Linked DNA regions of Homo sapiens: region 2 is linked to region 1. The links are contacts of gene promoters, found by promoter capture Hi-C in blood cells and fetal thymus (Javierre and others, 2016). All regions are on one chromosome and are shown on one strand. The core of a region is centred on a gene start or on the middle of the fragment in contact, and the rest is flanking DNA. Distances in the headings are between cores, read along the strand shown. Region 1 holds the start of MYL11 (myosin light chain 11). Region 2 has its middle 11 kb from the start of ZNF785.

Region 1 (4,379 bases), core at 1,131-3,630:
CGGGTCCTAGAGGGAGCGGGAGGAGAAGGAGATGGTTGTCCTTGCCAACTTGGGGCTTCCTCAGCCACTATTTTTCCAGACTTCTGCTGCATGGAGGGGACTGGGTCACTGAGGCCCAGAGGGAGAAGAGAGGGTACATCAAAGTCACACAATCAGCCAAGCTGGCTCTTGGCCAGAATAAAGTGAGCTGCCACTGGCTATCAAGGCACCTCACAGAAAGTGACCAGCTGGCTGTCCTTTTAGGGTCTTTTCCTCCCCTCTTGAGTTCCAGCCTCCACACCAGTACCCAGAGAAAATATTCTAGACTCATACTAGATCACATCCTTCTTCTGCATGAAACCTTTCCAAGGTTCCCCAGGGTCTCCGTCCTGTGCCTGGCAAAGGCCCCTCAGGGGCTGGTCACCAGCCCCATCACAATTCTGGCCACCTGAACACTTCTGATCTTCCGCTCTCCAGGCCTTTGCTCAGGCCATGCCCTCCGCCCAGCACATCTGCTCCTCCACCTGCACCTGACTCCCTGGCCCTCGTGAAGCCACTCCCATACTCCTAGACAGGGCTGCTGCGCCCTCCACTTCTGGGCTCCTGACCAGCTCTGGTATGTCAGTTTCTGCATTCATTCCTGTCTCTATTAGTTATAAGGCAAGTTCTGTGGGATGGGAACTACATCTCCCTTTTACAGAGGGGAAACCAAGGCCCAGCACAAAACCTGAGACCACAAAGCATCTTGCCTCAAAAAATCCCTCTTGGCTCGGCGCGGTGGCTCATGCCTGTAATCCCAGCACTTTGAGCACTTTGGGAGGTCGAGACGGGTGGATCATCTGAAGTCGGAATTCAAGACCAGCCTGGCCAACATGGTGAAACGCCATCTCTACTAAAAATACAAAAAATTAGATGCCGGGCACGGTGGCTCACGCCTGTAATCCCAGCACTTTGGGAGGCCGAGGCAGGCAGATCACAAGGTCAGGAGATCGAGATCATCCTGGCTAACGCGGGGAAACCCCGTCTCTACTAAAAATACAAAAAAATTAGGCGGGCGTGGTGACACGCGCCTGTAGTCCCAGCTACTCGGGAGGCTGAAGCAGGAGAATCACTTGAACCCGGGAGGCGGAGGTTACAGTGAGCCAAGATCACGCCACTGCACTCCAGCCCGGATAACAAAACGAGACTTCATCTCAAAAAAAAAAAAAAAAAGTAGCTGGGCATGGTGGCGGGTGCCTGGAATCCCAGCTACTCAGGAGGCTGAGGCAGAAGTATCGCTTGAACCCAGAAGGCGGAGGTTGCAGTAAGCCGAGATCGCACCATTGCACTCCCACCTGGGTGACAAGAGCAAGACTCCATCTCAAAAAAAAAAAAAAAGAAAGAAAAGAAAAAAAAATTCCCCTCTCCTTGAAGGGAGGTAGGAGACCCACCTGATCCCTCAGCTTCCACAGATGGCTCTTTCTCACCACCCTCACACTTACACACACTTGACTATGAACTCCACCATGTGGGGGTGGAGGGATTGTGTCTGCCAAAGTACATCCACAAAGCCCAGCCTAGCACGTGGCACACTGTGTGTGTTCAATACATGTTTACTGGGTTTATTTTATTAATTTAAAATAGAGACGGGGGCCAGGCGCAGTGGCTCACACCTGTAATCCCAGCACTTTGGGAGGCCTAGGTGGATGGATCACCAGGTCAGAAGATTGAGACCACTCTGGCCGACACGGTGAAACCCTGTCTCTACTAAAAATACAGAAAAAAAAAATTAGCCTGGCTTCGTGGCACACCTATAATCCCAGCTACTCGGGAGGCCAAGATAGGAGAATCACTTGAACAGGGGAGGTGGAGGTTGCAGTGAACCGAGATCACACTACTGGCACTCTAGCCTGGGAGACAGAGCGAGACTGTCTAAAAAAAAAAAAAAGGGAGACAGGGGTCTCACTATGTTGCCCAGGCTGGTCCTGAACTCCTGGCCTCAAGCAATCCTCCTGCCTCAGCTTCCCAAAGTGCTGGGATTACAGGTGTGAACCACTGCACCCAGACGTTTACTGGGTTTAAATCTGAGCCCACCCCACTCAGGGGTACAGGATCTGGTTCATTTATCTCCCAGAATGATGCCTTGGGTTGCGTCCCCTCTAAACTCTGGCACATTCCAGCCCCTCTTTGGGAGAAAGAACATCTCTTCTTGCCCAGGCCCTAGTGAGACATGCATCGCAAGACATGCTCCCCCCTTCCTCCCCGCTGGGCTCCAGCTGCTGCCAGCCCTCCAAGAAAGGAGAGGCCCTGAGTTGGGCTATTTTGGTATCTGGGGTGGGCACCCGCAGGGCTAAGGTTACCTTGGTATGTTAAGGGCTCCCTGGGGCAGGACTATATAACCCCAGAGGGACTGCCCCATGCTGACTCCTTGCTTCTTTCCAGCCGGAGCCGCTGCCTTGCCCCCCGGAGACTGAAGACATGGTGAGTGAGAATCCTCCAACCCCTGCCCAGATCCCTTAGACCTCAGGGCAGCCTCACCCTTTGAAAGAAAGTAGCTGGTTCCCAGTCCAACAAAAAGTTAAAAGGATGCTCATCTCTTTCTCGGCATCACTGATGGAAAACAGACTGTGTGATGGCCTAAAGGATCCAATCAATGATAATCCGCCCAGACATTCAACTCACAGGGGCCCAGTCCCTCTCAAAGCCTGATCCATTCATTCCTGTACTCCATCTTCCTAAGGCCCTCTGGCACCAGCCAGGCAATAACTCCCATCCCATTTTACAAATGAGAAAGTAGAGGCTCAGGCCAGGTGCTGTGGTTCACGCCTGTAATCCCAGCACTTTGGGAGGCCAAGGTGGTTGGATCACTTGAAGCCAGGAGTTCGAGACCAGCCTGGCCAACAGGCGAAACCCCGTCTCTACTAAAAATACAAAAATTAACTGGGCGTGGTGGTGCATGCCTGTAATCCCAGCTACTACGGAGGCTGGGGCATAAGAATCGCTTGAACCCGGGAGGCAGAGGTTGCGGTAAGCCGAGATCGCAGCACCGCACTCCAGCCTGGGTGACAGAGCAAGACTCTGTCTCAAAAAAAAAAAAAAAAAGAAAAGAAAAGTAGAGGCTCAAACAGGGCAAATGAGTGGCTGGGGTCACACAGCAAGTCTGAGGCTCAGAGGAGCTAGGCTCAGGACACTGAGAAGATAAGGAAGCTTCCACCCATTGTGGGGGATGGAGAGTTGGAGACCCAGGAGCCACAGACGGGAATTTGGGGAATGCAATCAAAGCAAGCCCCCTCAGCAAAGAGGTCCCAAGGAAGGGGAGACTCAGGCCAAAGGGCTGCTTTAGGAACAGGGACTCGAAGAATTCTGACTCTTAATCCATTGCCCCCAGAGAGGTGGAGGGACTGGTCCATGGGCCCCTTTGTTCAACCCTCACCCTCCAGGCACCCAAGAGGGCCAAGAGAAGGACAGTAGAGGGCGGAAGCTCCAGCGTCTTCTCCATGTTCGACCAGACTCAGATCCAGGAGTTCAAAGAGGTGGGTGAGGGGACGGGGAAACTGGAAGGCTGACCAAAAGCAGCCCTGCTGGCCCTCTCCCTGGAATGTGCACCTGCTTGAAGGAGGGGAAAGGTTTAGAATTCCTTCCTCCCCTCTCTGCTTGGGGTGGAAGAGGACAGTTGGCTGAGAGCCAGCATCTGATCCTCCTGGGGTAGGGATGCTGAGGCTGGGCCATGGGGGACCTAACCCTCCCCACCACGGCCCTCCCCAGGCCTTCACTGTGATCGACCAGAACCGTGATGGTATTATAGACAAGGAGGACCTTCGGGACACCTTCGCAGCCATGGGTGAGCCCCCTACCCCCAGGTGGGAATATTCAAGGCTGCAGAGTCTAGGAAATTCAGTGGCCTTGGGTTCCAGCCCTGTCAGCTCCACCTTGGGCCTCAGTCTACCCAGCTGAAAAATGAATGGGATCAGCTGAATTAGTGGGAAGCGCAGGCCCGGCCCCAGGAGCCTGCTCCAGCCCATGCTTCCCCCAACCCCCTCCAGGCCGCCTCAATGTGAAGAATGAGGAGTTGGATGCCATGATGAAGGAAGCCAGCGGTCCCATCAACTTCACCGTCTTCCTGACCATGTTCGGGGAGAAGCTCAAGGGTGAGTGGAGTGTCCTGGGTCCAAGGCCCCGGCTGCCTTTTCCCAGACCCTTCAGGGACCCATCAGCTTCATGTGCCCTCTGACCCCCACAGGTGCCGACCCTGAGGATGTGATCACCGGAGCCTTCAAGGTCTTGGACCCTGAGGGAAAGGGCACCATCAAGAAGAAGTTGTAAGCATCGGCTCCCCCACCCTTCCGACCCTTCCCCCACTCCACCAGCTGCTCCCACACTGACAGCCTCCTTAAATTTCTACCAAGGCTGGGCCCTGTGGC
Region 2 (4,379 bases), core at 1,253-3,752, 220 kb after region 1:
AACTAAGGATTTTGAGTTAGGAACACTAACCTGTTGAGTCTAATGTAATCACAATGGTCCTTATAAAAGGGAGGCAAGAGGGTAAAAGTCTGAGAAGGATATGTGACAACAAAAGCAGAGGTGGAGTGATGCAGTTGCTGGAGAGGGGCCACTAGCCAAGGAATGCAGGCAGCCTCTAGAAGCTGGAAAAGGCAAGAAACAGATTCTCCCTAGAGCCTCTAGAAAAGGAATGCAGCCCTGCCAACACCTTGATTGTCCCATAAGACCTATTTTCAGACTTTAGACCTGAAGAACTATAAGACGATAAATTTGTGTTGTTTTCAGCCACCAGTTTCTAGTAATTTCTTACAGTAACAAATGAACACAGATAACATTGTTGAGGAGCATTTCTGAGTTTGTCAACTACTCTATTGATGTGGGAGCACTCTCCCAGCTCTGAACTCAAGAAAGTCTAAAAAGAAGTAGGACTCAGAGACATTATGCTGAATAAAAGAAGCTTTAGACAAAAAAAAAAAAAAAAAAAAATACACACTGTATGATTCCAATTATATGAAGTTTTATAACAGGGAACACTAATTAGAATAGTAGTTGTCTCTGGTGGGGTGGGAATGGGAATTGACTAGGAAGGGGCATAAGGCAACTTTCTTTCTTTTCTTTTCTTTTTTTTTTTTTGAGACAGAATCTCACTCTGTCGCCAGGCTGGAGTACAGCGGCAGAATCTCAGCTCACTGCAATCTTTGACTCCCTGGTTCAAGCGCTTCTCCTGCCTGAGCCTCCCTAGTAGCTGGGATTATGGGCACATGCCACCATGCCCAGCTAATTTTTGTATTTTTAGTAGAGACGGGGTTTCACCATATTGGCCAGGATGGTCTCGAACTCCTGACCTCGTGATCTGCCTGCCTCAGCCTCCCAAACTACTGGGATTACAGGCATGAGCCACTGTACCCAGCCACATGAGGCAACTTTCTAGGATGATGGTAATGTTATGTATTTGGATAGGGGTTTCAGTTACAGATGTATACGTCTTTGTCAACACTCAGCAAATATACACTTAAAGTTTGTGCATTTTATGTACTTTTAACTCAAAAAATATATAAAACAAACGTGGAGCTCTAGTTAATGATATGCATGTTGAAATGTTTACGGGTGAAGTGTACTGATTTCAGCAATTTTTTTTACATGCACCCAAAAACAAAGTGTACTGGTAGAGTAACTGATAGTTACATGATAAAGCAGATACACTAAATGTTAGTGATAGAATCTAGGTGGTGAGTATATGGGTATTCTCTGTAAAAGTCCTTCAACTTTACTGTGTCTTTCAAAACTTTTAAAATGAATGGTGGCTGGGTGCAGTGGCTCACACCTGTACTCCTAGCACTTTGGGAGTCTGAGGCAGGTGGATCGCCTAAGGTCAGGAGTTTGAGACCAGCCTGGCCAACATTGTGAAACTCCATCTCTACTAAAAATACAAAAATTAGCTGGGCATGGTAGCTCATGCCTGTAATCCCAGCTACTCTGGGAGGCTGAGGCCCGAGAATCGCTTGAACCTGGGAAGTGAAGGTTGTAGTGAGCCAAGATCGCACCATTGCACTCCAGCCTGGGCAATGGAGTGAGACTTCATCTCAAAAGAAAAAAAAAAGCAAAACCACTATTGAGAATGAAAAGACACTCCACAGAATGGGAGAAAATATTTGTAAATCATGTGTCTAATAAGGGATTAATATTCAGAATTTATAAATAACTCCGGTAACTCAACAACCACTAAAAAATAAAAACCCAATTTAAAAGCAGGCAAAGAGGCTGGGCACGGTGGCTCACACTGTCATCCCAGCACTTTGGGAGGCCAAGACAGGCAGATCACTTGAGGCCAGAAATTCGAGACCAGCCTAGCCAACAGAGATGATGAAACTCCATTTCTGCTAAAAATACAAAAATTAGCCGGCATTGTGGCACAGACCTGTAATCCCAGCTACTCAGGAGGCTAAGGCATGAAAATCACTTGAGCCTGGGAGGTGGAGGGTGCAGTGAGCCAAAATGGCACCACAGCATTCCAACCTGGGCAACAGAGCAAGACACCACTCAAAAAAAGAATTAAAAAAAAAAAAGATGAAAGCAGGCATAGGATTTATATAGACATTTCTCCAAAGAAGATATACAGATGAGCTGGGCGTGGTGACTCACGCCTGTAATCCCAGCACTTTGGGAGGCTGAGGCAGGTGAATCACCTGAGATCAGGAGTTCAAGACCAGCCTGGCCAACATGGTGAAACCCCATCTCTACTAAAAATACAAAAAAAAAAAAAAATTAGCCGGGCGTGGTGGCGCACGCCTGTAATCCTAGCTACTTGGGAGGCTGAGGCAGGAGAATTGCTTGAACCTAGGAGACAGAGGTTGCAGTGAGCCGAGATCTTGCCGTTGCACTCCAGCCTGGGCAACAGAGTAAGACTCTATCTCAAAAATAATAAATGAATAAACACACAAACAAACAAATAATAAATAATTATCACTTTTTTGCATTTTCCCAATTTCTTTACTGATTATTTTTGGGATTTGGAAAAAACATAAGGCCGGGCGAGGTGGCCCACACCTGTAATCCCAGCACTCTAGGAAGCCAAGGCAGGAGGATTGCTTGAGCCCAGGAGTTCGAGACCAGCCTGGGCAACATGGAGAAACCTCATCCCTACAAAGAATACAAAAAAATTAGTTGGGTGTGGTGGCACATGCCTGTGGTCCCAACTACTCAGGAGGCTGAAGCAGGAGGATCACTTGAGCTCAGGGAAGTAGAAGCTGCAGTGAGCCATGATCACACAACTGCACTCCAGCCTGGGCCACAGAGCAAGACTCTTTCTTGCTGGGAAGGAATTCTCACATGTACGCACTAGCAGAAGCCACAAGCGGCACCAGGAAGACTAGAAGAATGCGGGGCATGAAAGCTAAGTTACAAGAGAGCTTAAGTAGGAAAACTAAGGTATGTAAGATAAAAATTGAAGCACTGATTTGTTAACTAGGTCATCAGTTATCTTAAAGGACAGTCTTAGAATAATTGCATGGCAGCTGACTTTACAGTCACCCAGATATGTGATCCTGGACAAGTTATTTATTTTTTTTTAAATTTTTTGAGATGGAGTTTTGCTCTTGTTGCCCAGGCTGGAGTGCAATGGCGCAATCTCGGCTCATTGCAACCTTTGCCTCCCGGGTTCAAGTGATTCTCCTGCCTCAGCCTCCCAAGTAGTTGAGATTACAGGCATGTGCCACCATGCCTGGCTATGTTTTTGCATTTAGTAGAGACGGGATTTCACCATGTTGGTCAGACCGGTCTCGAACTCCTGACCTCAGGTGATCCACCCGCCTCGGCCTCCCAAAGTGCTGGGATTATAGGCGTGCACCCTGTGCCCGGTCGACAAGCTATTTAATGTCACTGTGCCTCTGTTTCCTCATCTGGTCAAGGAAAACAATACCTACAGTCAGATCTGGAATTTGAGGCTGCCCTACTTATAGGTTAATAAATGGGTCTGTTATTGTTTCATGGATGCTGTCAGAAAACAGAGACAAAAGACCTTACTGTTCAGGGCACAACAAGCAGCATGAGCATGCCTGCATTGGTTCCCTTCTGCCCCCTGCAGGGGCAATGTGGGATGTGCCCAGATGGATGCTAGACACACAGTGAGTTGCATCATAGGGGAGGAACAGGAAGCTCCTGCTGTTTTTTTCCTTTTTAAAGATGGGATTTGGCTGGGAGCGGTGGCTCACGCCTGTAATCCCAGCACTTTGGGAGGCCAAGGCAGGCAGATCACCTGAGGTCAGGAGTTCGAGACCAGCCTGACCAACATGGTGAAACCCTGTCTCTACAAAAATACTAAAATTAGCTGGGCATGGTGGCAGGTGAGTGTAATCCCAGCTACTTGGGAGGCTGAGGCAGGAAAGTTGCTTGAACCCAGGAGGTGGAGGTTGCAGTGAGCCAAGATCACGCCACTGCACTCCAGCCTGGGTGACAAGAGTGAGACTCCTTCTCTAAATAAATACATAAATAAATAAGATGGGGTCTTGCTATGTTGGCCAGGGTAGTCTCAAACTCCTGGCCTCAAGCAATCCTCCTGCCTTGGCCACCAAAAGTTCTGGGATTACAGTTGTGAGCCACCATGCCCAGCCATCTGCTGTTTTATAGTAAGCAGTAAGGAAGCTGCTCTTTGTCCTGGATGCAGACATTACCTCTCCCTCAAGGTTTGCTTGCTGCCAACACTCCTGAGAATTGTTCTGGGTAATGAGTGGCAAGGGCTTTGCTTATTTATTTTTATTTATTGGTTATACTTACATTTATGGTTTATTAAAGCAAAACGACACAGATTTAAAATCATCAAAGGGATAAGGTACATGGGACAA

What was found. The method cuts DNA at HindIII sites, captures the fragments that hold promoters and counts their contacts. A CHiCAGO score of 5 or more calls a contact.
Region 2: a fragment that was not itself captured here is called in contact with the fragment with the promoter of MYL11 in region 1 in 2 of 17 cell types (erythroblasts and fetal thymus); the score reaches 6.7 in erythroblasts.

Annotation. Positions count from the first base shown.
Region 1 is chr16:30,372,422-30,376,800 of GRCh38, forward strand. MYL11 (myosin light chain 11) reads left to right here and starts at 2,381. Exons shown (of 7, transcript NM_013292.5): 1 at 2,381-2,439; 2 at 3,399-3,491; 3 at 3,724-3,799; 4 at 4,002-4,106; 5 at 4,199-4,277. The coding sequence starts at 2,437. The HindIII fragment of the contact is 3,476 bases long and covers 1-3,163 here.
Region 2 is chr16:30,594,723-30,599,101 of GRCh38, forward strand. No RefSeq gene overlaps it. Among named protein-coding and RNA genes, the nearest start is that of ZNF785, 11 kb to the left of the region's middle. The HindIII fragment of the contact is 4,017 bases long and covers 495-4,379 here.